Linked DNA regions of Homo sapiens: regions 1, 3, 4, 5, 6 and 7 are each linked to region 2. Evidence: promoter capture Hi-C in 16 types of primary human blood cells and fetal thymus (Javierre and others, 2016). All regions are on one chromosome and are shown on one strand. The core of a region is centred on a gene start or on the middle of the fragment in contact, and the rest is flanking DNA. Distances in the headings are between cores, read along the strand shown.

Region 1 (3,773 bases), core at 303-2,802, about 10 Mb before region 2:
AGGCAGATTGCCTAAGGTCAGGAGTTCAAGACCAGCCTGGCCAACGTGGTGAAAACCCATCTCTACGAAAAATACAAAAAATAAGCCAGGTGTGGTAGCGCATGCCTGTAATCCCAGCTACCCAGGAGGCTGAGGCAGGAGAATTGCTGGAACCCAGGAGGTGGAGGCTACAGTGAGCCAAGATTGCACCAGTGCACTCCAGCCTGGCTGACAGAGTGAGACTCTGTCTCAAAATAAATAAATAAATAAATAAATAATTGAGACATACATATATACATACCTCCTTTCACAGACAGGACCCATTAACTGAAACTCTTTTTCACAGGGAATCCTGGTATCTATCCTCACTCCCAACAAAAGAAATCTTAACAGCAGTCTGATTTCCCATGCATCCAATGTCTCCCCATGACAATATGAGGAAACATTGTTCTTTTGATTTTTTTTTTTTTTAAGAAATGAGGTCTCACTATGTTGCCCAGGCTGTTCCTTTACTACCAGGCTTAAGAGATTCTCTCGCCTCAGACTCCCAAAGTCCTGGGATTACAGGCATGGGCCACCACACCCAGCCAAAGTTGTTAATGAAAGCATGGCTTTACAGAAAGCTTCTTTAGGCAGAATGAATGTTTTAAAGTTTAAGAATAGGATCTGCTGACAGCTTAAGAAATAACTAAATTTGTGTGGAAATATCTCGGCAAAACAGCTTCAAGTTTCCCTGGTAGAATAAAGCCCACCCTTCTGGAAATCCCACGAACCTTCTTCTGTGCCTATCTCAGGTCAATATTCTCTACAATGCTCTGCCAAGAAATATATACTTTATCTTATTACCCTTATTATACTATAAGCCTCTGGAAGACAAGGACCTTATGATTTATCTCTGTAGCTCAGAGCGAGCATACAACAGTCCCTGTCAAAAAATAAAAATAAAAAAGGCTGTTCAATATTCCCTTATTTCTGTTTATGGCAGTTTAGTCTTCAAGATGGACACTTCACATTAAGTCCTGTGAGCCTCACAACAAACATAGTGTGTTATACTATGTTATATAGGTTATACAATTATGTTATTATAGTTCAATTTTACAGGTGAGTAATCGAGGATAACTGACTTGCCTTCCGTCACTCTGCTACTAAGGTGTAGAGACAGGTTTCGATCTCATTGCTTTTGAAGATTTACACGCGGTCCCCCGTGATTCCGGAATATCCCTCTTCCTACAGGCGACATCGGCACCGCCTCCCCCCGGGACTGCGCGACCCCATCAGGAAAGCCCTTTGGCTTCGCACAAGTAACAGGCACGACAGGCTCCCGAGCCGCTAGGGTCTGCGTAGGCTCGGCAGGCGCAACGAATGGAGGCGACCAAAGCCAGGCCTCGACCCAAATCCTCGGGGGCCAGGGTGGGGCGGGAGCCCACCTGCTCAAAGCCGGCTCCTCGTCGCTAGGCTCTTCAACCGCGTAGGGGTCGTAGTCATCCGGAAGCCGGTTCATGGTGGCCTGCAGCGGCCTACACCGTCCACAAGCAATTTGCAGCGTCTCTGTTTACACTGCAAGTCCAGTCCCTAAAGCGCCCCTGACGCCACTTCCGCCTGAACGTCCCAGTCCCCCTTGCGCGCCCGCGCAGACCGACAGCACCGAGGGAGGCAGGTAGAAGGCGGGGAAGGGGCGGAGCAGGAGCGAAAAGGGGCGGGGACGGGACGGGGGCGGGTCTTAATCCCACCATTTTTGTTTTGTTTTGTTTTTTGGAGACGGAGTTTCGCTCTTGTTGCCCAGGCTGGAGTGCAATGGCGCGATCTCGGCTCACCGCAACCTCCGCCTCCCAGGTTCAAGCAATTCTCCTACCGCAGCCTCCCGAGTAGCTGGGATTACAGGCATACACCACCACGCCCGGCTAATTTTGTATTTTTAGTAGAGACGGGGGTTTCTCCATGTTGAGGCTGGTCTCGAACTCCGGACCTCAGGTGATCCGCCCACCTCGACCTTCCAAAATGCTGGGATTACAGGCGTGAGCCACCGCTCCCGGCCAATCCCACCATTTTCTTCCGCAGCTTCTGCTTACAGGAAAATAGCAGCTACCTTGTCACCAAAAATAATAATGATGGGCACCCTCATAAGTGACAGTCTCTGAGGTGAACATGCTACATGCAGCGTCTCATCACCTACGAAGCAGGAATCTAGACGCTGAGGGACACACAGCCCGAAATCCAATAAGTCCTCAGACACCAGCACCCACATCCCTCCAACCTCGCCTCTAACCCTTATGCCTTCCACACCATGAGGCTCTCAACCTCTCCTTCACACTGTTCACTCCTCAGTCTGACTGCGGCCTCAACAATCTACGAAAAGTTATCTTTTCTCGTCATCTTCCCAGTCCCCACTTTTGCTCAGCCCTCAACTGATCCCACTCGATACCTGAGGAGAACAGGCAGATGACAGCCACTTGAGCTCCATCGGGAGACTGTTTCTAACCCTGTTTCTGAACCAGGAACTCGGGTTCCTGCCTCCTACCGAGACACTGTGGCACTCTCTAAAATGTGGAGTAGCTGTAATAAATCTACTCCTGTATTATGCTTTACAGTGCAGGTCTTAGTTTTTCTTTTTTCTCATTTCTTTTGAAATGGCATCTCGAACAAAGTCCACCAATCCCTTTACAAAAGAATGAACTGCTCCTCTGTGTGTACTTCATAGAAGGTGGAATCGGACAGAAGCAGGTTAGTGACAGTTATTCCTGAAATACAGGAGCAGAGTACAGTCTGTTGTGGTTTCCCGGATTCCGCGCCTAGCTCAGCCAATTAAGCATGAGACATAGGCCATTGAGCCACTTAGTAGTTATGCGAGTGGATAGATTGGTATGTAGAGGGAAAGAGGTCTGCTGTAAAGAACAACACTTGTTTGTCTGTGGGGAAAGAAAAGCAGAATACTTGAGATGAAAGTTGGCATACAAATAGGATACTATCGCCAGTAGTTATATTACAAACATTATCGGCCTTTCTAGTGTGAATGAACATTAGACACATTATTGTCATTCCTAGTTTAAAGTTAAGGTTGCGTGGTTGGATTTTTCCACTATCTTTTTCTAATTTTTCTACCATTTGGAGACCGTAGGCATTTGGGCCTGTCACCCCTTGGATGGGTTCCTAGTTTGTTTACATTTTCCTGAACCCTCCTGAGCGCCCGTTCTTGGTCTAATCCCCAGTCGTGATGATTCCACACTTCCTCAGCCGCATGTTGTCTTGCCTCATTCATGAGCTGGTCAGCGTTTCGTCTCTTTAACTGACATGTTCCCCAGTGCTGTTTGAACTGTTGAGTTTCCGTTGCTGGCTGAGTGCGTTTTGTCCTTCACGTAACCTTCGCTGGTAAAAATAAGCCCATGTGATGTCCACCAGTGGATGAATGCTGGACCGAGAGCCCTAGCTTCTGGATCCAGGTCTAGGCCCTTCATCTGCTGCTCTGTGGCCCAGGGCAGGTTTGCTTGACCTCTGCCTCAGTTCTCGACTCTAAAGGACATACTGACCTACCTCACAGGGGTGTTGTGAGGATTAATAAATGTTGGTACTCTGCTTTGGAAATGTGAAAATGCTGTGTAAATGTTAAGAAATACTAAGTATAGGGCCAGAAGCTATACAGTGTTTCACTTAACCGTTTGCCATTCTGTATTTACCAAGGTGGTCTTTTCTGGGGAAGGAAGTAGAGTGGAAGGTGCATCCCTTGGCCCCTGGTTTACATTATTAGGGTGCTTATTGTAGGAATGCACTCTAAAAAGTGGGCGTAGAATGAAAGCAGC
Region 2 (3,642 bases), core at 174-2,673:
TATCCAAGTATTCAAGGAATCCATGCTTCCTCCATCTAGCTGAGACTCGGCAGAGTTTAATGAGCAATCTCAATACTATTCTCCAGAAATGGTGTCATCCACCATACTATGGCTGTTTTCAGGAAGAGAATGACCTAATCAGTATAAAATGAACTCCATGTCTTGTGAGAGATTTATAATTAAACACATAATCCACATTTACAAACATTTTTAAAGGGCTTTTCTACCTGTAGGAGAGGATTAATATTGAGAGTGAACTTTTTGCAAGTTTTCCAACACACTAGTTTATCTCTAAGAGCCTCAGTTTCCTCATCTATAAAATACCATAAGAAATAAGAAAAAACAGGAAACTAAAAAGAGCAGGCTTTGCCAGAGCTATTAATTATTCTTTTTTGGGCAGAGCCAAAACTCAAGAAATGGAAGTCTCTCTTCCATTTCTAGACTTTTTTAGAGAGATCCATGAGGAAGTTCCCCTCCATAGCTTTGGCCGACCATCACACCGGTCAAGAAGGCATCCAGCCTCTCCCAGGCTCAGCCTGTGACGGAAAACCACACTGATTTACTAGGATAGCCTTGAGCTCTCTCATTAGCCCTCACGTGTTCTGAACGTTAGAGCTAACTTTCCAGACCCTCATTATTTGTTGAAAGGCTGGATGGGGAAAATCTCAACCAGATCTCCATGCCTACTTGCAAGGAGAGGTAGTTTTTGCAGGGTGGCCTGTGTTCTCCAGATGCAGAGCCATACAGGGCCTTGCTTCTTTACGGGAGATACAAAAACTCGGCCCTAATAAACAGAAATAGTGGTTGAGCCCACAAACTAGCATTAAGTTGTCCTAACTGTAATTTCCAGCTCCGTCACTTGCTGTGTGGGACCTTATTATCTCCAAAACCCAATTTTTTCAACTTCACAATGGAATTAAAACAATCTAATTTTTCAAAATGGGGTTAACTTCCACTGTAAGTTACAGTATATTGGCCAATAATTAACTTGAACACTAAAGCTGGCATTTAACAGATCAATTCAACTGTTTTCTAAGTAAATACTTAAACGCTTAAAAAACCGTAATTTACTGAGAAAACAAAGCTTTCTTTCTAGGTTAAGAATTTGAGAAAACAAGACCCAGAAGCAAACTAAAATCAAGTCCTAAAATGGTACAAACCTCAAAAAGCCAATCAGGTTTGCCAATAAAGCTCCGCCTCCGTGCAAACTCTGCCCACTTCCGGCTTCCCCACCCACCTTCTACCAGTGGAACCCCGCCCCTCTCTGCGAGGTCCCGCCCCCCACACCTGATCCTGGTTCCCATTGGGCGAATCTGGATGCTGTATACACAGCCGACACACGCACATTAGGCTGGGGCGTCTTCGCGCCTGCGCAGCTGCGCTGTCAGGCGGCTGAAAACGGGGGGGTTGGGGGGAGGGGGGCGGAGGTCGTGCCGAATCTTCCTCCGTAATAAGAAGCGACGTGTCCCACTGTCCTGGCTCCGTGGGTCCAGTGAGATTGGGCCTGGGCGCTGGAGCTGCTGTGGCTCCCGCCGCGGCGGCTGCCATGGAGGCCATGCCAGAGCCCAGAACTCACGCCGGGGGAGGCCGAGACAGCCGGCGGTACTCATAGATGAGGCAGCGGCGGCGGCGGCGGCGGCGGCAGCCCGGGCTCTCCATGAGCAGGCGGCGGCGGCGACGGGTGCGGCGGCACCGGCAGTTTTCGGTCCCCAGGGAGGTACGAGGAGTTTGCTTCCTGGTGGACGGAGACTGGCCGGTGTGGGAACGCCTTCCGCGGCCCGGCCCTCCAGCCTATTTGTCCGCAGTTCTGAGCACTCGGCGGGGCACTGCCCGGGCAGAGGCGGGGGCGCCCAGCCGACTCGCGGGCCCCTAACTCGGGGACCCGCCCGCCTCGGTGCCAGGCCTCCCGGGCGCGGCTGCCCAGGGCCAGGGTGGGCGTGGCCGGAACGTGGGGGCTCCCCGGGGGCGCACGCCTAGCGTCCGCCTTGTCCCTGTCCCGAAGTCCCGCGCTGCTGGGAGCGGTAGCGCGTGGCTGTACAGGCGTATTTTAGGCGCTGATTTGAGAGGGGACTTTTAGAATCCCTGAGTCCTTAGGGAGTCTGGCGTTCAATGCCTTGGGCATGTGGTGGGGTCCTCACGGCTAGCTTGGGGTACCAATTTCCTCCCTTGGAAGTCACCACGAAAGAAAGATGTTTTGTCAAAGAAATAGAGGTCAGGAGAGTTTTCCAGGTTTATTCAAATTGGAGGGCCCGTAGAGCCTGGAGAATAAAGCCAGCGGAATACATCCTCCAGTCCTTCTAATTACAGTTCCTAGCTAAACAGCTAAGACAATTTTAAGTAAAGCTCTTCACAGCTATCTTTCCATCATTTTTCCCCACCCCTCATTTTTATTGCAATTTACTTTGGAACAAATCACCAAATTCATGATGAAACTAGTATCCTCTAGTTCTTCCAAACCTTCCCTCCTCCCGTTTTTTCCAGAGAAAGACTAAAGTTTCATGCCACATATGTCATTATAGTTTAATTCTCTTAGAGTGTAAGGGTAGTTACACTTCATTTGGTCATGTCTGAAGATAATGTGAAGAAAATATCCTAGAGATTTATGCTTCCTTCCCAATGCACTATTTTAGGAATCCGAACTCAGGCTCTTTAAGCAATCTTAAACCTTGCTACAAAGTTCTTTAAAATTCAACGGAAATAAATCAAACCATAAAGTTATTTTCGTTTTTAAAGTATTTGAATGCATAACTGTTTTTTAAAATCTTTGTAAACAAAACGAATCAGTATCTATTACGAAGAAACTGAGTTTGTGTTTTCCTAGGCTGCAGATTTGCCACACCCTCTTCTTCCTAAGTGGATGACTAGAATCAATGTGTTGGCCAACTAGATATAAACATCCACTCTTCATACTAAATATAGTTACTGGATATTTTAGAGTCCACAGTATCTTGCTTCAAACTGAAAACACTGTGTTCATGTGTGTTTAATATATTGCAGAAGTGAATTTTTACTCGCGTTGCAGAATGTTTTGGACTTAGTTTCTTACACAAATAAAACACGTAGGACTGCAGCTTTATTAAGTGTTGAGTTCATGTTGTGTTTGGGAGGATGCAGCACTTGGAAAAGATGGTCAAAATAAGACACTGATCTCAGTCACTCATTTCTCTGTTTCCACTCCTCAGATGCCTCCCTTTTTTCATAACAATACTTCTCCATAAAAGTAACCTCGGAAAACAATATGATGTTGTTAGTTTATTTGCTTGTCCCAAGTAAAGTGAAGGAGTTTTTTCAATACAATTGTAAAAAGAACTCATTCTTTCAAAAGTATGTGCGCTATATAACATACATATAACACAACATATTTATTAAAATACTTACTGTGGCTTTAAAAACAAAGTGCCTAGTGGTCCTCAAGGTTGGGGAAGAGTGCCAGTTTGAAAAGGGAGGATGCTTTGCTTCATTCTGAAAACATGCATAGGGAATAATCAGGATATTTATCAAGTTCTGAATCAGATCTTCATAGTATAGCCTCTGTAGTTAAAAATTATAGTATATCTAAATTGCACAATAGCACAATTCTCAGTTGCAAATAAAAATCCCAAAGTGATTAGCAATATTAGCTATGCTACTATTCACTTAAGA
Region 3 (3,594 bases), core at 947-3,446, about 10 Mb after region 2:
CACTGGCCAATCTGAGACAAGAACTGAAATTGAGAATCAGATTTTAGAAACTTTACTAGCAATTTGACAGAATAATTTTATGTCTGTGGACTTTAATAATCAATAATTCATAGGCTAGGCATGGTGGCTCACTCCTGTAATTCCAGCTATTTGGGAGGCTGAGAAAGGAGGATTGCTTGAGGCCATGAGTTTGAGACCACCCTGGGCAACATAGTGAGACCCTGCCTCAAGAAAAAGATGAAAAAATATAATAATTAATAGTTCGGGCTTTTATTATGTCTTTTAAAATTAATTTCATTTTTATATCAATTTTTTGAGTCCTCTAATCAACAGGAATCAAGTTTTGTTTGTTTTTTTTTTTTTTTTAGATGGAGTCTCACTCTTGTCGCCCAGTTAGGAGTGCAGTGGTGTGGTCTCAGCTCACTGCAAACTCCACCTCCCAGGTTCAAGCGATTCTCCTGCTTCAGCCTCCCAAGTTGCTGGGACTACAGGCGTGCCCTGCCACACCGGGCTAATTTTTGTATTTTTAGTAGAGATAGGGTTTCACCATGTTGGCAAGGCTGGTCTTGATCTCCTGACCTCAAATGATCTGCATGCCTTGGCCTCCCAAAGTGCTTGGATTACAGGCGTGAGCCACCATGCCCAGAAGGAATCAAGAGGTTTTAAGAAGGACAGTGTTTGAGATGAATCTGAAAGGATAAACTGAAGTTTTACAATTTTGAGCTAACTATGACATAAAGAAGCTTCAAATGATCATGATATATTGAGCTAATATTGCTCACATATTAAATCAGACATACAGTTTGATGCCACGGTGTACCATATAACACCCTTCCTTAATTTTTTTTTTCCTTTTTGAGATGTGAGCCACCGTGCCTGGACTTCCCCTCTCCAATTTTTATTAAAAATATGTATATAGATAAAGGTCTAGATGGAGATACTGAGTGGTTATTTCTTGGTGATGAGATTATGGGAAATATTTTTATTTTGTTTTTACGTTTTAATATTTAAGATTTTACACATATATTTTACAACAGTAGTTTTATAATTGGACAAAATTATTTTTGTTAAGGACTGGCTAAAATCAAAGTTGCTGGTTTAAGTGTAACTTGGTACAACCTTTTAAAAATCATTTGGCAGTTTGTATTAGTAACTGTGAAAGTGTTGATAGTCTTTTTCACCTAGTAATTTCACTTTTGGGTATCTTTAAAAATCTACATTCATGAAGATGTTCTATGATTTCTTTATAATGGCAAAAAGTGAATGAAGGAAACAAGTTATGTCCAAAAATAGAGAATTACTGCAGTAAATTTTATGTCCACTTAATGTAATTTTATGCAGCTGTTAAACTGGTTATGAAGCTTATGTGGAAATATGAGGAATGCTTATAAAAGTGAAAAGAGGATGCAAAATCGCGTACAACTACTATTACAGTGTAGTAAAATATATGTGATGGGGCAAAAGGTCTAGAAGAAAATACATTGTCCTCATGTTTTTCAATGTGGTTAATATTATTTTCACAATGAAAACAATAATAAGCTTAAAGATTGGGAATCAAAAGTTCCTCACTGGCCCTCTGATTTGAATATAAAGTGTTAAAAATTTATATCCATCATTAACCAGCCCTTAAGCTTCTACAGACTTTAACAGTTTCGTGTCAGCCTCAACGTTTATCTACTTTCTGACCGGTATCCCTGCCATGATTTTCATAGGAAAGAGAGTCAGAAGGGACCTTTCCAATTTTGTCATTTTACAAATTGAAACTCTGAACCCCAGCCTTCCAAGCTAGCAGCAGAACCAGTATGAGGATCCAGGTCTACTAGGTTATCTAATAGTATCTGAGACCATTTACAGCTTCAGGTCCACCCACGAATATTCATAAACTTGACATGTCTGCTGATTGAACCCTGGCGTCACTACCCTTCTTGGCTGGCCTGGGAGGTTTGATTCCTTTCCCTACAGTCGTGCTCAAACTTTCATTCTCTACCACTTGGGGGCCGCAGACGCGTCATCCAGGTCTCCCTTTTCACTTCCCCCTTCCCGCCCCCAGTGTCCGGCAGGGGGCGCCGTGAAACTCTGGATCCGTGGCCCCTCCCCCGGCCAACCGTCGATTGGGCCGGCGCGTGACGTCACTCCGTTTTAGCCAAACAAATGGGTTTCGGGGCGAGCGTTGGGCGCCGCCGCGCCGCGCTGGGTGCTCGGTCCGACTCAGCGGTGGGGAGTGAGCCAGGCCTCCCGCCACCGCTGCTGCCGCCACCACTGCGTCGGGCTGGTGCAGCCCCGGGCCAGGCCGCGGCCGGGGCAGGAGCGCAGGTGGGTCCGGGCCGAGGTGGGGCGTGGCGCGAGGGCCGCGCGACTGGGGTCCGGCGGCGGCCACCGTGGCCGCTCCCCGCCCCCTACCGCCGCCTGCCTGCGCTCCCGGGGCGCGGGGCGGGTGGGGGTGGGGGCGGGGGCGCCGCCCGCGGGTCCGGGGTAGGGACCCGGCCGCCTGCGCCTCCTCCGGTGCGGCTCTTTCCGCGCGCACGGCCCGGGCGCTGAGCGTCCCCGCGGGCCACGGAGGGTCGGGCGGGTAGGGAGCGGGGTCCTGGGTCCCCGCTGAAGCCGAGGAGATTCACGGATAGGCCGTGAGCTTGCACCGGACCGGCGCTCCCACTTACGGGACCCAGGGCGGTGAGGAAGTCAGCCTCTGGACTGGGGTCGCCTCGCCCCTGTCGCGCCCTCCCGGGCTCGGCCACTCTGCCCTTCCCTGCCCCAGCGCAGGTGAGCTGGCGCTTGTCCTTAACCTTCTTCAACGACGAGGCGGGACGGAGGCTCGGACGCCTCCCCAGCCTCTGGGCTGGCGCAAGTCGACTGCGGTTCGTCCTCAGTCCACGATGAAGTCATAGGGCTGTGGGTCCGTGTGTCTGTGACGTCAGAAGATGGGTCCTGGGATGTCACTGCAGGCCCGGGCGGGGACCTGGGCTCACGGAAGGGCCGGGGGGACCCGCAGGGTAGAAAAAGGAAGTTGTCTTCCACGAACGCTTGGAATCGCAGTGGATTTGAATCGAAAGTTGTTCGGTATCAGCATTTTGCAATTTTAATGTAATAGTTGTCAATTTCTTTAACTTCTTGTCCAGCAAGCGTTGCGAGTACAGCTCAGTATAAGACATTTGATTTAGAAAAACTTAAGTCAGGGTAGGAGGTTTTTTGGAGGGTGTAATGTAAAAAGCCTTTTAGGAAGCTAAATTCGTAGTTTGATAGTTTGCAATCAGAATTACTGAAAAAAAAGAGAACCACTTCTAGTGTTGATAAATCAGTTTGCTTTTTTTTTTTTTTTTTAACTGGACATCTATCTGCTTGTTAGCATTTTTTGTTAGAAAATGGCCAGGAGGAGGGAGAGTGGATCTTACATGATTTTTTTTTTCTGTTGTAAAGGGAGGGAGGAGTTTGAATTAATCCAACATTTGTCTTAAATAATAATTACCTGAGGAGTTAATTTATCCAGGTTGTCCCTATCCCACCCTATGGTACCATGCTACCACCCCATGCTACCATGGTTTAGAAGTCAGCAACAAGCTGTTTTCTTGCTTTCTTACTGAGACCCGGCTATAACTT
Region 4 (3,757 bases), core at 993-3,492, about 13 Mb before region 2:
TTGTACTGGTAAACACCTTTAGACTATTAGTATTAATAAGAAACGAAGTCCTAAATTTCCAGGCTCCCTAAATCAAGATAAAGAACTGAAAATAATGTCGACTATGAAAATCATTGTTTGGAAATCGTGATCTTTTTTTTTTTTTTAACGTCTTCTGGTGTCTTCATTATAAGAAAATAAATGAGATTTCAAGTCTTCCCTGCCTCCAGTATCATGTCCTATAACTGAACATTACACCTTTTTAACGTTTTCTTTAGAAGCCCTGATTTATTTGGCTTTGGTTTATGTTGATACATGTCCATGATTATTAAAATTTCTGATTATTTAGGACATAATTTTTAAGGTATCTTTAGGGTGTACACTCTATAGTACTTAACATCTTATTCAGGTTATGACTTTGAACTGCATCATTATAACACTAAAAAGCAACCTTGGCTAACTTCAGTACCTTACGTAACATAAGAAATAAAGAATAACTTGAACTTAAAATACTTTTTATATGTTTACTTCGGGTATTCTTAAGGGCTTTCAGTACAAAGATAAAAACATGCGTTGGAATGCATCAACATTCCAACTTACATAAGTGGTGTAGATACCTATGGCATTAGTACCACATTTTGATGGTTGGACCACCCACCAAATTCCCTTCTCTCCTTTTTTACTTCTTTTTCTTTCTGTTTGCTTTCCTTGCAAGTTTCCTTCCGCATCCTTCTTTCCCACCTACAATTTGTAACTGAAAGAAAGAAGTAGCTACAGACCTTACCTAACCTACTCTTAACCTACTTGGTAGGTAGGGTTCAGATGCAAGGGAGTGGCTCGAATAAAGCATTTTAGTTATGCCTTTTAGAAATTAGGGAGCAAGAGATATATAGAAAAATTAGAAATGTCTCTTCTACCTTTATTAAGTCTACCTTTGAGAAATATGAAGGGCAGGAAGACGGAAAAACGAACAGAACTTCTGCTGGAATATTGTGACAAATTTACTGACAAATATTTTCTAATAGATTTTTACCAACAGGCAGTTTTTGTTTTCTTTACTGACAGACCGTAAATGTACTTCTGGTTGGCAGCAGCTGCATCATTATAACACAAAAGCAACCTTGGCTAACTTCAGTACCTTATGTAACATAAGAAATAAAGAATAACTTGAATTTAAAATACTTTTTATATGTTTACTAACATTAAACTATTTTCAATGCAGGAAATAAATATTTCCCCAAAGAGGAATCCCCCCTCAATTACTTTCTTTCAGACTTAACAAATTGGAGTAGATGTGGTTTTGCTCATTCTTTTATCTGCTGGCAACTATTTTAAGTCTCCTGTGCAAGGCAGATTCCGATGACCTCGGGAAAGTCACAGGACCTCAGTTTCTTCAATGGTAAAAGCAAAGGCAGTGGTTTCTACCGTCCTTTCTCACTGCACCATTCAGCGTCAGTGCCCTCATGAGAAACACACCCAAAGCCCAGTGTGCTCTACCCCAAAACTTGTGAAATTTCTAGAGTCTCAAAAAAGTGAATATGTTTAAGGCAGTATAATAAAAGCCAGGTGGACGACAGTTCCTAAAGTTAGGCTGGTAGTGGCGTGAACAGGGGTCTTTTGGGCCACCCTGAGACCCGCCCCACGGGGCTTCTCGATCCACGTCTTGGCTTCTCGCTCCACTTTCACAGAACGTACTGAATCAGGGGCCTGCATCCCCGTGCCGTGCCGAGCCGACGGAGAAATGGACTCCTCTTCTCGCTCCTGTGGAGTTTCGTCTTCTGGGTGAGTGTGGCACCGGGTCCTGGGCGGGTGATGTCTGTAGTTGGCGAGCGATCCTCAGCCAGAAAACTGGCTGCGCACACAGGCGCAGACACGCGAACATGTTCCTGCGAACGAGCTTGGGCGCATGTTTTCCTCCCTTGCTTTCTTTAATGCTCAGAGACCATAAGGGGATTTATCGAGAAGCATTCGGTGCCCATGCCCGGTTTGGAACCGCGAGCACAATATCTGGTTCCTTTGCAGTACGGTGGTTTGCTCTTGAGTTACGACCAGAAACCGGAACAGAAGGAAAGGGAGAAGCAGGGGAGGTTCGGGGACGACGGCGCTCCGGGCAGTAAGGCAGTAGCTTCCAAAGCGTGGAGGATGGGACTGAGGAGGAGCAGAATACGGAGAAAGAGGGAAGCTGAGGAAAAATACTCACGCCAATGGGTAAAAGGGAAAAGGTGAGAAGGAATGGAGTAGGGGAGGGAACCAATGGTGGGAGAGGCGGAGGAAGAAGGGGGAGGGGTAGAAGCCAATGGGGGAGTGGAGGGGAGGGAGAAGCAGAGGGGAGGAGGGAGCGGGGACGCGAGCGAGGACGCGGCCCCGCGCGCTCGTCCCCCTCCCTCCGACTGGATAGCTCGCGCCTTCCCAGGCTCCCGGGAGACGAGGGCAGGGGCGGGGCCGTGCCGGGTGCGCGGCGCGGGAGGCGTCGCGAGGTGAAGGGGCGGGGACGGGGGATTGTGGGGAGGGCAGCGCGGGTTCGCGCGCGCGCGCGCGTCCCGTCCAGGCTGCGCCGCCGCGCCGCCGCTCCGCCCCCGGTCGGGTGTGTGGCTGCGCGCGCCGGGAGAGATGCTGAGGTAAAGTTCGGGAGAGAGGGAGAGAAATCCGTCAGCGCGAGGGAGCCCGAGTGGCCGCCATTACTGAGCCCGGCGCGGCGGCGGGCGCTGGGGAAGGGGGGAGGGACGGGCCGCCGCTGGTGGCGGGGAGGGAGGGAGGGAGGGTGGGTGAGCTGGCTGCGGGAGCCGTGGGGCTCAGGGTTTCGGGGCGTGTGTGTCGGGGAGGGCGGGGGGAGGTGGCTGAAGGGACGCGCCGCTCGGTGAGCGCGCCGAGGAAGAGAGGCGAGCGGAGAGTGGAGGAGGAGGCGGCGGCGGCGGGAGCGGTCCCCAGGAATGTCGCTGCCGCCGCCACCGCCGGGGCCGCTGCCGTTGAGGAGGAGACGGAGGAGACCGACGTTGTTAGGTAGGACCTTGCGGACCCCGCTCCTCCAAGCCTGCCTGCCCCCTCCCGGACGGGGACCCTCCTGCGGCTAGCTGCCCCGCTCGGTCGCCGCTGCCGGTTGTAACCAGTTGAAGGGGCTGGGGCCCCGCGGCCGCCGAGGGGAGCCTGGCGCTGCGCTCGGTTTTCGCAGGCCGGGCGGGCAGCAGCTGCAGCGTTAGGGATACGTTCGGCGTGAAGGGCAGAGAGGCCGGGGGAGGGGGTGCTTTCTCCACAGGTGACGGGGCCAGGGTCGGCGGAGGCCTGATGCTGGCCGGGGATCGCCGGCCCCGCCAGGCGTCCGCTCTCGCCCGCCGCCTCACTTGCTCGAGTCTCGGGTGGTCCGTCGAGAGGGGAGGTGGCGGTGTCCGTTGGCCGGGTTGCTGCTGTTAACGAGTTCCACCTGGAAAGGGTACACGGGGCGGGTGCAGATTCGCGGAAACACAGTCTCGGTTGCAAACTTAAACGCCTTGTAGGGGGGATCGGCCCTTTCACTTTCCCTCATCTCCTCGACTCCTCCCTGGGTTCTCTTCACCAATTTTCCATCTGCTTTGAAGCTTGGAGTAAGATATGAGAAGTTGCACTGCGCATCCAGAGCCCAGAGTCCTATGGGCTGACTGCGACTGGGTTGAGGCTTTGATACTGAGTTTTCGCTAGAATAACCTCCAGATTCTTCCTCTCTTTCCACTAAAGAAAAGTATCGGGGTGGGGGTGGGGAGCCGCGCGGGAGCGCGCGCGCACTTATCCACACAGAAATACTCCC
Region 5 (3,819 bases), core at 422-2,921, about 14 Mb before region 2:
GCAGTTTTTCAACTTTCCTTATCCGCCAGGTTTAACGTACAGATATCATACCAAATGAAAACCAGTTTTGCACAAGAGTATATAAGCTGATTAGGTTGCTGCTTAACTAGAAACCAGAGCTGTCTGTGTCAAAGACAGTCAGTCAAGCTTCAGGTCCCACTACTGCTATCACTAAAGTCTATGCCAAAAGGCAAAGAACACCTAACTAAAGGTTCTGTTTTTTCCAGCAAACTTCATCCCCCTCCTTCTCTACCCAAAACTGATCTTCAGATAAGGGTTAGATTCAGTATTTTGAGGAAACTCTAAACACCTTGATCCAATCCCCCTCCAAATTGTTTCTCCTTCAAAATTACCTCCAATTTCACATATTCTGCTGACTTCTCAATTTACTTCTATTTTAAAGATATCCAAATACAAACGACAATTATATACAAGATTTATCTATGAATAAAGAGTTGGTTAGGAATTTTGGCAGTCTTGGCAACTATTCTTAAAAGTTAAAAAAATAAAAAAATTAAAAAAGGAAAGGCTAAAAGTAAATGCAATGGACCAGCAGGTTACGGATCCGAACGAATGTAGGCCAACCTAGGGCCCTCTTTCCCCAGCTTCACAAGATAGGGCAGTTGGTTAAAAAAACAAAAACAAAACCGAGAAGCAACCCCAACAGGTAAGTCATTACAAAAGCGCCCCGTAAGCGCCCTGACTGGAGGACAGCTTTGGGTCCCACGTAACGCAGCCGCAAGTGTGGGAAGCCGGCGGCGGGGCGCGGTGGGCACCCAACGGCGGCGACCAGCGGGGTTGACCCCACACCCGGGGCCCGGCCGAGCCGGGCGCTGAGAGGCGCTGGCCCCCGCGCTGTGGTTCCCCAGCACCAAACCCCGCTAAGTTAACTACCTGTGTCTACGAGGAAGGGAAGTTCTGGAGAAGCAGCAGCAAGCCTTCGTGCCCGAGAGGAGGCCGCCGGGCCAGGCAGGGCGCCGGCTCTCCCGGGAGCTGCGCCCGGAACTCGAAGGCCTGGCAGCGAACCCTTCTCAAGGGCAAAAGGAGCCGGCCTGAGGCTCTGGCGCGGGCAACCGGGCCCCGCCGCCGGCAGGGCCCCGGGAGGGGAACAAAGGGGCCAGCGGGGAAGTCGGCAGCAGCCTGGCCGACCTCACTCGGCGCCGGGGTCTCGCTTTCCGCCACTCGCCGGGCGTCCGGGATCCGCGCCCCCACGCAGGGCCCTTCCGACGGTCCGAGGCGCTCCCGCCTCCCCTTCCCGCAGGCTCTTACTCGGGCTTGTCGTTCCAAACCGCTCCGATCCAGCTCCCAACAGGCCGCCGGCAGAGCCAGGCCCGGCCGCGGCCCTAGAGTTCCCAAGAAGCCGCAGGCCGCGCAGGTCGAACCGGGCAGGCGGCACAGGAAAAGCCGCGCCTCGTCCCTCCCCTTCCTCCGCGAGGACCTGGTGACAGGGAAGCGAGAGGTTCTCGCGTGCGGCAGCAGCCAGCGGACGTCCAGTCCCCAGCACGCGGCTCCTCAGGCCCTGCAACTCAGAGGCCCGCGCGGTGCTGCGGGCGACGGCGGCGGCGGCGCGGCGGGGAGGCCCAGTCCATCGCGAACCGGGAGGGGGAGGGGAGGAGGGTCGAGGGAGAGCCAGGCGGGGAAGCTGCCGAGGGCAGCCGAGCCCGGCGGAGGCGGAGCAAATCCACTCCCCCGGCGGCGACCCCGCCGGCGGCCACCTGGGGCGCTGCGGGACGGCCGACCGCCGCGCAGGGGCGCCAAACCGGGTACGCCGCGTCGCCGTCCCTGCCCCGGAGCTCTCGCCCCCGCCGCCTCGGGCTGTGTCGTACGTTTCTGCCGCGGCTTTTCTATGGTGCGCCCTGGCCCCCTTTTCGCTTCCCTGTCAGTCCGAGCGCGCTCATGCACGCACGTCCAGCTTGCTTGGCGCCGTGGCTAACACTTTGCGCGCTCCTGCGGAGGGCGTCGCACGGCACAGCACAGCAAAGCTGCGGCCCAACCTGTCCCCGCTGAGCCTTCCGCCCAGGCCACCCGCACTCAGCCACGATCTTCCCTCCTCGCGCACGGAAGTGCGTCGCGTAAGGAAGGCGTCTCCCCCCGCTCCTGGGAGGCCGACCGCCTGGCGGTTCACCCCAAAGAAAACCCTTCAGAGCAACCCTGGGAAAGAGGTGCTGCCGACGATTATCAACGTTGTACAGATGAGACACTGAGGCTCCAGGAAAGCGCAAATGCAGGCCCAGCGCCGTGCCCGGTCGGCAGCAGCACTGAGAGTGCACTTTTGACTACGTTTCTTGTGGCTTGTGGTCACAAGTATGTCTGTGGTTATTCTTTTCAAACTTTATTTCACACGCATTCAGAATAAAGGATGCATGCTTATAGGACGTAGTTGGAGCCCGGAGACGTCCTACTGTACTCTCACTTTCAGCTTTTAAACAAAAAGAAAAATTAATACGACATGATAGTGTTTGAGACATGGTCCCTCAGGCAACCAGAGGAGCTGCTAGGTATGAGTAAAGAACAGAATTTGGGTCCGCTGCGTTTCCTGTAATCCCAGCACTTTATGATTTTACTCTCTTGAGGCCCGGAGTTCGAGACCAGCCTGAGCAACATAGACCTGGTCTCTGCAAAAAAATTAAAATTTAAAAAATAATTACCCAGATGCGGTGACGCACACCTATGGTCCCAGCTACTGGAGCGGTTGAGATGGGATGATCCCTCGAGCCCAAGAAATTGAGGCTGCAGTGAGCTTTGATAATGCCACCTCACTCCAGCCTGGGCGACTAAGCAAATTTGTCATTTCCAAAATACTGGTTCTTTTTTTTCTTTCTTTTTTACTACTTCTTTAGAAAAAGAACCAGTATTTTGGAAATGACAAATTTGTACTTCAGATAGCTATCCGCGCATGTCCCGTTGTCGCAGGTAATGGTCCGTTTAGGTATCCTGTTAACGAAACAAGAGGAAAAAGAGGATTCAACTATTTTGTCCCAAGTACAACACATGAGGATAATTATTTAGATGTCATGAGTGTGAATTGGAGCTGCCAGGAAACTTCAAGAAGGAAGTGGCATTCCCTCTGGACCTTGAAGAATGGGTACAATGTAGACACTGAAAGGAAAGGGAAGAACATAAAGCCTGATATGTTCCTAGACATAGGAAAGGTCACCTGTGCCCCCAGCAAAGAACCAACAGTAAGCAACAGAGAGAGAAATTTGGAGCTAAAGTGGGGAAGGCCTTGAATGAGGAATGCAGAAATTAGGCTGAGCTAAGTAGCAAGTTCTGGACTACAACACTGGAAAAACTAGTCTTAAGAAGACTAATTATGGAAAGTGTCTAGAACGACTAAAAGGATCTATCTAGACGAGACTAGCTGGAGGTTGTCGAAATGCTGCAATAATGGAGGAAAGAAAAGTCTAGTTATTGGCAATATGAATGGGGAAGAAATCTAAAAATAATTTTTGAAAGAAGATATATCAGAATTTAAATGATTAACTTAAAAATTTCCGTCCAGGCTCCATGGCTCACACCCGTAATCCCAGCACTTTGGGAGGCAGAGGCAGGGGGATCACTTGAGCCCAGGAGTAGGAGACCAGCCTAGGCAACATAGGGAGACCCTGTCTCTACAAATAATTTTTAAAATTAGCTGGGTGTGGTGGTGCACACCTGTAGTCCCAGCTACTCAGGAGTCAAAGGCAGGAGGATCACCTGAGCCCTCGAGGTCGAAGCTGCAGTGAGCCATGATCATGCCACTGCACTACAGCCTGGGCAATAGAGCAAGACCCTGCCAAAACAAAAAACAAAAACCCTTAACGTAGAAAGAGGACTTGG
Region 6 (3,854 bases), core at 717-3,216, about 13 Mb after region 2:
AAGTGACAAAGATGTAAACAGTAATGTAAATGTTAAAAGTAGTGGCAAAAACAGCAATTACTTTTGCACCAACCTAATAGGGGCCTTTGCTTCAATGTTTCTTCTATTAAACCATCCCGACCGCTCCTCTATGGACAGATTCAAGATTCACAGACGCTACTCTAGCTGCTTAATTCTGGAGTAAAATAAAAACTTTCAGAAAGACTACTAACTAAAGTATTGTCTGTACGTATTATTCTCTAAAGCATCATTAGCATAGGCTTTGCAATTAGGAAGTCTGTGGGTTTGTTCCTGGCTCTGCCGTGGGACATTGGGAAAGTTAATCTCTCTGAGCGTCGGTCCCCACAGATAAGAAAACACATATTCTTGTTATTTCTTGAGAAGATTAAATATTAGGCAAAACGCCTAGCACAGAATAGGGTCTCAGCATCTTCTGCCCCCCAAGAGCATGAATCAAAGGTTCGGAATTGCGTCGTCTCTCGGCTGCCCCTTGGCAGCCAGGTCCTCAGTGACCTCTTCACAGTGAGCTGAGACCGAACCTCTTCACAGCCGCGCGTGGGTGCGGCTTTGGGGCGTGGTGGGAGGGAAGGATAGGGAGGCCGGCTCCGCCCCCTCAGGGCGACCGGCGCGCCTGATCGCCGCGGCCTCCGCGCCCCCGCACTCGGATTCGCGCCCGCCAGCGCCTCTTTTCCCCTAGTCCTGGCGACGGCAGCACCTGCAAGGGTGGGTCCAACGCGGAATGAGGCACAGCCTGGGACAGCCCGGGCCCGGCGCGCCGCGGCCGCGCGAGGCCCCCGCCGTCGCCGACGCCCGAGCGCCGGAGCCCCGGCCCCGCCCCGCGAGCGCCGAGACTTGTTGGCCGCGGAGACTGCGACCCTCTTCTCTCAGTCTGCCTTACTACCATGCCGCTCTACGAGGGCCTGGGGAGCGGCGGGGAGAAGACGGCGGTCGTGATCGACCTGGGAGAGGCCTTTACCAAGTGAGTGGCCGTGACGCCAGCTGTGTTCGACCCGAGGGGAGGGCGGGTGGCAGAGCCCCAGGCACTGCCTGGGTCCTCATCGCCGACTCGCTGGGCAGCTCCGGGCCTCCCCTTTTCTTCAACCAGCGCCCTTGCAAATAACAGCTCTTATTATTTCCTCCCTGGGCGATGCGAATCCGAGGATCGGGGTCTGACTCCCAGAGAGGCCCAGAAAGCTTCTGTTGAATTGCCCTCGTCGCCGCCCCTTGTCATCACCCCAAACCCAACAAACCCTTTGGGATCATCTGTGTAGGGGATGACAACCGTGACCTAGACCCCGCTTACCCTGGGCTCCTCAGTTGAGGAAGGCAGCCAACCGAATGTAAATGCTCGATGACGAATTTCATCATAAAATATTGAACGGAGTTTATTTTGGTGCTGAAAATGGAAAGATGTTTAAGACAGGGCTATCGCTGCTCAAGAATTAGGGAGACTGGGCACATTAAGAGGTGAAACCCTATAGATAAGATTCTGGAAATCCTTTGTTGGCTCCCCTAAACTCGAAGGTTAGATTTGACATGTTTTAAACAAACCAACTTGTAAACAATAGAGAGGAGGTTCTCAACCTTTCGGATGGCATAGATCTCTTTAATGGCTGGATGAAAACCACAAATGCACAAATCTTAAGGTACTTATACACAGTTTCAGGGAATTGGCAGACAATCAATGTGGTCCTGGGACCCTAGATTAAGAGTCCTTGTGATGGGCTCAACAGAGAGGGAAGTAACAGGCAATTACATCATATATGTATTTATGAAAATGAAACATTTGAAAAATCTTTTTATATCTCTAGGCACTTCCTGACGTGTAGTAGGTATTTAATAACTATTTATTGACTAAGTGGTTAAAAGAGCCTATTTAAAAATTGGACCCCAGGAACTCCAGAATTGGATTAAACATAGTCCTTGGTTAATGACATTCTCTTATTGTTCTATGCGAGGCCCTTCCTTATTTATATTTTCTTATTAAAATTATTTTGAAAGCGTAATAAACAGTTCGAGGCTTCTAGTCAAAGATAATTATTTTGGCTGTACTTGGAAGAAATAAGCAAAAAGCTATATTTGAAAAAGACAGCAGGAGGATGATAAGATAAATGTATGAAGTAAAAAAAAGGAATTGAAGTCTAATGGCTTGCATTCTGAGATGTTTGAGGAGCACTGATGCAAGTAAACATGGAGACGGGAATAGGAGGAGATGGAGAGAATTATTTGGGAATACGAGGAGAGCAGTATCAAAAACTAGACAGGACAAGAAGACAGGATGTTAAGACTAAACTAGTATGATGATCATTTTTAGCAACGTTTTTAGCAAATTTTTGTTTTACTAACATGAAACAAAAATGGAAATACCTAAATACTCAAGAAAAGAGCATCGTTTTTAAAATAATGAAATATGTGGTTTTAAAAATAATACTGTAATTCCAGCAGTTTGGAAAGCTGAGGCGGGCTGACCACTTGAGCCCAGTAGTTCAAGACCAGCCTGGGCAACATGGGGAAACCCAGCTCTACACAAAATACAAAATTTAGCCGGCGGTAGTGTCGTGCCCGAAATCCTAGCACTTTGGGAGGCCAAGGGGGGAGGATCGCTTGAGCCTGGGAAGCGGAGGCTGCAGTGATCTGAGTTTGTGCCACTGCACTCCAGCCTGGGCGACAGAGCGAGACCCTGCCTCAAAAAAAAAAAAAAAAAAAGTGATAGCAATGAAGATTATGTTAATATGGGCAGAAGCTTACTGTATGAGTTAATTATGTATGAAGTGTGATTAAAACTATGTCAAATATATATGCATAATCATAAGAAGTAGACTGAAAGTGAATACACCAATATGGAAGCTAACAATATTAGAATGATGGAATTATGAGTGATACAGATGAATTATATGAATGAAGTCACATAATGTAGTACAGATTCAGAGTTGTAGATATGTCTTGCCTAAATTCTGCTAAAATTAACAACTAGGAAAAAAGTTGGCCAGGCGCGGTGGCCCACGCCTGTAATACCAGCACTTTGGGAGGCCGACGCGGGCGGGTCACGAGGTCAGGAGATCGAGACTATCCTGGCTAACACGGTGAAACCTCGTCTCTACTAAAAAAAAAAAAAAAAATTAGCCCTGCGTGGTGGCCGGCACCTGTAGTCCCAGCTACTCAGGAGCCTGAGGCAGGAGAATGGCGTGAACCCGGGAGGCGGAGCTTGCAGTGAGCCGAGATCGCGCCACTGCACTCCAGCCTGGGTGACAGAGCCAGACTCCATCTCAAAAAAAAAAAAGTAAATGCTGCCCTAAAATAATACATTTGTTTTTTTCAGCATCACGAATTTCATAGAATTTTTTTCTGTTAATACACAAGCATTAATAAATAGTATTATTAGTTTTGTGGAGTGATTTTTTTTGATCCCTTAAAATACATCAGGTATTTTCAAATGTTATTGTGGCCATTGTTTTGAAACAAATACAGAGAAAATTAGTTTCTGTGACAAATATTTAAAAGAATACTATAAGTTGTTTCAATTTTCCATTTATTTGCAGGTGTGGATTTGCTGGAGAAACTGGTCCAAGATGTATAATTCCTAGTGTGATAAAAAGAGCTGGGATGCCTAAGGTATTTAAAAAAAAATATTAGCAAAATAAATGCCATACTATAAAATGTTTTAAAATATGACTTCAAGTAAGATTGATTAAAACAGTACTAAAGGCCAGCCGTGGTGGCTCACGCCTGTAATCCCAACACTTTGGGTGGCTGAGGCGGGTGGATCACCTGAGATCAGGAGTTTGAGACCAGCCTGGACAACATGGTGAAACCCTGTCTCAACTAAAAATACAAAAATTAGCCGGGAGTGGTGG
Region 7 (3,763 bases), core at 1,264-3,763, about 13 Mb before region 2:
TAATGATTCAGCCATTCTACAAACATTATTCTCACTTGCTCCTCCTCTTATGTTTTCTCTCAGGGAATTCATCTAGTTGCTCATGTCATAAACCTCTACACAACCAATGATTACCACAATAGCTAACAATTACTAACTCTGTGACAGCTGTTCTACATGCATTATCTTAAGTTCAACCTCACAACAACCATAGAAGTAGGAATTAACTATTTTATTGATAACAAAGTGAAATTTAGAGATGTTAAGTCAAGCCTTCAAGAGAGAGACCTCATGTCTCCTTGTCTCTGATCTTGCCCCGCTGATCCATTTCTTTTTTAACCCAGTAATCATAGTGGTATTTCTAAAACACAAATCTGATGTTACTTTCCTGCTTAAAATCCTTCTATAGTTCCCTTAGGATAAAGTCCAAATTTCTTTACAAGATATATACAGCCTTTCTTGATTTAGGCAACCTCCATCTAACCAACCTTCACTCCATCCTCATCTCTTTTAGTCACTTTGTCCTAAGTTGCACAGATCATTTACAGTTCTTAACAATCCAGAAAAGAAATGTATTTTCTACTCCTCTTGTGTTCTCTCTTCTTTTCTCTCTTCTTTCTTTTTTTATTTTTATTTTTGATATCTTTTTTATTTTTTTATTTTTATTTTTTAGTATTTATTGATCATTCTTGGGTATTTCTCGGAGCGGGGGATTTGGCAGGGTCATAGGACAATAGTGGAGGGAAGGTCAGCAGATAAACATGTGAACAAGGGTCTCTGGTTTTCCTAGGCAGAGGACCCTGCGGCCTTCCGCAGTGTTTGTGTCCCTGGGTACTTGAGATTAGGGAGTGGTGATGACTCTTAACGAGCATGCTGCCTTCAAGCATCTGTTTAACAAAGCACATCTTGCACCGCCCTTAATCCATTTAACCCTGAGTGGACACAGCACATGTTTCAGAGAGCACGGGGTTGGGGGTAAGGTTATAGATTAACAGCATCCCAAGGCAGAATAATTTTTCTTAGTACAGAACAAAATGGAGTCTCCTATGTCTACTTCTTTCTACACAGACACAGTAACAATCTGATCTCTCTTTCCTTTCCCCACATTTCCCCCTTTTCTATTCGACAAAACCGCCATCGTCATCATGGCCCGTTCTCAATGAGCTGTTGGGTACACCTCCTAGACAGGGTGGCGGCTGGGCAGAGGGGCCCCTCACTTCCCAGACGGGGTGGCCGGGCAGAGGTGACTCCACCTCCCGGACGGGGTGGCGGCCGGGCGGGGTCTGCCCCCCACCTCCCTCCGGGACGGGGCGGCTGACCGGATGGGGGCTGCCCCCCACGTCCCTCCCGGACGGGGCAGCTGGCCGGGCGGGGGCTTTTCTCTCTTCTTTCATCTTTCTTCCTTCTACTCTCTTCTTCTTTCTTCTTCCTTCTTCTTTCTTCTCCTTTTAATTTCCTCTTCCTCCTTCCTCCTTCCTTCTTTCTTCTTCTTCTGACAAGGTGTCACTCTGCTGCCCACGCTGGAGTGCAGTGGTGCAATCATAGCTCACTGCATCCTTGAACTCCTGGCTCAAGCAATCCTCTTGCTTTGGCCTCCCAAAGTGTTGGAATTACACGCGTGAGCCACCATGCCTAGCCTTAGCAGTCCATTTCTAACCTCTTTACAACAATCTCCTTGCCATTCTCCCAGCTAACTTCTACACATTATTCAGATTCAGCATTCAGCTTAGATATTACCTAATTTAGAAGCTTCCCCTGATTGAATTGAGTGCCCTTTCTTTGTATCACTTTGTCCTTTCTCCTGTATCCCTCAATGCTTTTCTCCTGTACTTATCATATTATACCGCAATTTTGTTGTTAACTTATTCTGTCTTTTGCACTGGATTATAAAGCCCTTTAGTGGAGGAATTATGTCGGTCTCAATGCTGAATATTTTAAGTCTACTGTAGTACTCGGTACATAGTAGTTGCTCAACGAATATTTGTTAAATAAATGAGTCTTAAGTCTGGAAGAACTTGCAAAGTTCTTTACCAGGTTGCTGGTAAAGCAACCTGACCTTTCTTTCAGGGAACTGTCAGCAACACAAGCCATGAATACCAACGCAAAACAGACTCTCACTGTAGATCACACGGGAAAAAATAAAATAAAAAGGTAAAATCCTTAACGGTGGTAGTATTTAAATGACCATATACTGCTTAGTAAGAAATCCTGGGGTCATTTTCAAGGTCCCCCATTTCCTACTTTTGTTAAGCTGGGTCAAGTCTCTTTAAACTTTCTCCGTTTTCTTGTCCATAAAAAGAGTATACTAGGTAAGTCTTCTGTCTACCTCGGGACTTCTGTAAGTATCATAAGAGATGTTTTATATGACAACACTTCACAAACGTTTAGTAAAACGCTGCAAAATGTTTGTAGCTGGCTATAAACAAGATCATGCAGATTGGGTTCCTGAGCCAACAAACCCAAAGAAGACCGGTTGCTAGGAAGAGAAAGCCGAGCGTTGCTCCGTGACGTCATCACTCCGCGCCACCCGCGACAGTTTCCCAGCAGGGCTCACAGCAGCGTTCCGCGTCATGGGGATTTGGCAGCGTCTGCTGCTTTTTGGTGGGGTGTCGCTCCGGGCTGGTGGCGGGGCCACTGCCCCGCTTGGGGGAAGCCGAGCGATGGTTTGTGGGCGCCAGGTCCGTGGTGCTGCAGGGCAGGGGGAAGCGGGCTGACAGATGCTGGGCTGCAGGGCCGCAGATGCCCTGGCATTGCTTCTTGCCAAAGACTCGCCTCAGTTCCTGAGACCCCCAGTGTGCTGGACGTGCCTACTTTTCAGGCAGGCCCAGGCTGAGGCGTGGCGGGACTTGAAACACAGTTAGAACGTAGATGTGGTATTCTACATTGCTTTCTTGGCTTTGGGTTATTTATCAAATAGATTGAAGAAAAGCAAAACACGTGGAAGCCTTATCTCCGTAAAGAGGCAGCGTTTTTACATTTTTAAACGTTCAGCGTATCCTGCTAGAAAAATTTCAATTTAAGCAATGTGTCTTTACAATTGTTATCAGTAGTAGTAGGTAAATGTCTCCATAGTGAAGATGAGCAGAATTAGAAAAGAAAGCCCTCTTAATTGCAAACCCCAGATTGTTTTTGCTTTTACAGTGTGATGATGGAGATGGCTTATTTAAAACGGCTTTTTATTATTATTATTTTTTAAAGTTGTCTGGCGCCGGGAGTGAGACCCTAAAACAAAGAAGAACACAAATCATGTCCCGAGGACTTCCAAAGCAGAAACCGATAGAAGGTGTTAAACAAGTTATAGTTGTGGCTTCTGGAAAGGGTGGAGTCGGAAAATCTACTACAGCAGGTATTATAGGATATTAATTCTATTCCTGATTAAGAACTTATGCCAACAGACAAGTGCACACTATTGAAATTATAGTTTTGTGTTTTAAAAATTTATTTGTGAAGTTCCTAACATGTGATTCCTTAGTTTCAGGAGTTGGTAGCGGGTAGACGCTTAGATTTTGGAGTTAGACAAAAGTAGGTACTAGCCGGGTCTCCCACCCCTTAACTCAGGAAAAAGTGGTCAGATTGTACAGCAAATCTTCAGTTCACTTAACTGTAAAATGGAGATAACTTCTTTCATAAGATGGTTATTCAAATTGCACAAGCTAACCACTTAGCTTAGTGTTTACTAGTGTTCAATAATTGGTTGCTGTTATTTTTAAAACATCTAGTAACTTTTTTTTTTTGTTTTTTTTTTTTTTTTTGAGACGGAATCTCGCTCTGTCACCCAGGCTGT

Evidence for each region. Contacts are between HindIII fragments. The CHiCAGO score rates a contact against its expected background, and 5 or more counts as called.
Region 1: the fragment with the promoter of EAPP here is called in contact with the fragment with the promoter of DORIP1 in region 2 in 2 of 17 cell types (total B cells and total CD4 T cells); the score reaches 8.2 in total B cells.
Region 3: the fragment with the promoter of FBXO34 here is called in contact with the fragment with the promoter of DORIP1 in region 2 in 1 of 17 cell types (total B cells); the score reaches 8.2 in total B cells.
Region 4: a contact is called between the fragment with the promoter of ARHGAP5-AS1 here and the fragment with the promoter of DORIP1 in region 2, in 2 of 17 cell types (total CD4 T cells and total CD8 T cells). The highest score is 6.3, in total CD4 T cells.
Region 5: the fragment with the promoter of HECTD1 here is called in contact with the fragment with the promoter of DORIP1 in region 2 in 2 of 17 cell types (non-activated CD4 T cells and total CD4 T cells); the score reaches 8.8 in non-activated CD4 T cells.
Region 6: a fragment that was not itself captured here is called in contact with the fragment with the promoter of DORIP1 in region 2 in 1 of 17 cell types (total B cells); the score reaches 6.8 in total B cells.
Region 7: the fragment with the promoter of NUBPL here is called in contact with the fragment with the promoter of DORIP1 in region 2 in 2 of 17 cell types (total CD4 T cells and non-activated CD4 T cells); the score reaches 19.3 in total CD4 T cells.

What each region holds. Positions count from the first base shown.
Region 1 is chr14:34,538,149-34,541,921 of GRCh38, forward strand. EAPP (E2F associated phosphoprotein) reads right to left here and starts at 1,553. Exons shown (of 6, transcript NM_018453.4): 1 at 1,407-1,553. The coding sequence starts at 1,480. LOC105370447 (a long non-coding RNA gene) reads left to right here and starts at 1,601. Exons shown (of 2, transcript XR_943739.1): 1 at 1,601-1,636; 2 at 2,038-3,558. LOC112268123 (a long non-coding RNA gene) reads right to left here. Exons shown (of 2, transcript XR_002957583.1): 2 at 3,086-3,773. RefSeq lists enhancers at 756-1,680, 1,331-1,490 and a silencer at 1,631-1,730. The HindIII fragment of the contact is 15,759 bases long and covers 601-3,773 here.
Region 2 is chr14:44,895,852-44,899,493 of GRCh38, forward strand. It overlaps DORIP1 (dopamine receptor interacting protein 1), which reads left to right and starts at 1,424. Exons shown (of 5, transcript NM_001017923.2): 1 at 1,424-1,717. LOC101927418 (a long non-coding RNA gene) reads right to left here. Exons shown (of 3, transcript NR_110050.1): 2 at 3,379-3,462; 3 at 3,057-3,225. RefSeq lists enhancers at 1,069-1,118, 1,743-2,242 and silencers at 1,609-1,738, 1,759-2,078. The HindIII fragment of the contact is 3,873 bases long and covers 1,083-3,642 here.
Region 3 is chr14:55,269,225-55,272,818 of GRCh38, forward strand. It overlaps FBXO34 (F-box protein 34), which reads left to right and starts at 2,197. Exons shown (of 2, transcript NM_017943.4): 1 at 2,197-2,313. It overlaps FBXO34-AS1 (FBXO34 antisense RNA 1), which reads right to left and starts at 2,854. Exons shown (of 2, transcript NR_184222.1): 1 at 2,658-2,854. RefSeq lists a silencer at 2,249-2,748. The HindIII fragment of the contact is 2,090 bases long and covers 1,630-3,594 here.
Region 4 is chr14:32,074,457-32,078,213 of GRCh38, forward strand. ARHGAP5-AS1 (ARHGAP5 antisense RNA 1 (head to head)) reads right to left here and starts at 2,243. Exons shown (of 1, transcript NR_027263.1): 1 at 963-2,243. ARHGAP5 (Rho GTPase activating protein 5) reads left to right here and starts at 2,848. Exons shown (of 7, transcript NM_001030055.2): 1 at 2,848-2,979. RefSeq lists silencers at 2,269-2,528, 2,889-3,108, 2,907-3,201. The HindIII fragment of the contact is 3,747 bases long and covers 1-3,549 here.
Region 5 is chr14:31,206,122-31,209,940 of GRCh38, forward strand. HECTD1 (HECT domain E3 ubiquitin protein ligase 1) reads right to left here and starts at 1,672. Exons shown (of 43, transcript NM_015382.4): 1 at 895-1,672. RefSeq lists enhancers at 564-1,077, 1,590-2,101, 2,079-2,248, 2,102-2,613 and silencers at 719-928, 1,049-1,258, 1,559-1,898. The HindIII fragment of the contact is 4,913 bases long and covers 146-3,819 here.
Region 6 is chr14:58,199,316-58,203,169 of GRCh38, forward strand. ACTR10 (actin related protein 10) reads left to right here and starts at 834. Exons shown (of 13, transcript NM_018477.3): 1 at 834-979; 2 at 3,540-3,612. The coding sequence starts at 903. RefSeq lists enhancers at 277-406, 1,027-1,216 and a silencer at 477-866. The HindIII fragment of the contact is 1,549 bases long and covers 1,193-2,741 here.
Region 7 is chr14:31,558,891-31,562,653 of GRCh38, forward strand. It overlaps NUBPL (NUBP iron-sulfur cluster assembly factor, mitochondrial), which reads left to right and starts at 2,514. Exons shown (of 11, transcript NM_025152.3): 1 at 2,514-2,657; 2 at 3,178-3,325. The coding sequence starts at 2,550. NUBPL-DT (NUBPL divergent transcript) reads right to left here and starts at 2,441. Exons shown (of 3, transcript XR_943720.2): 1 at 2,221-2,441. RefSeq lists enhancers at 2,357-2,756, 2,683-3,238. The HindIII fragment of the contact is 6,263 bases long and covers 1,727-3,763 here.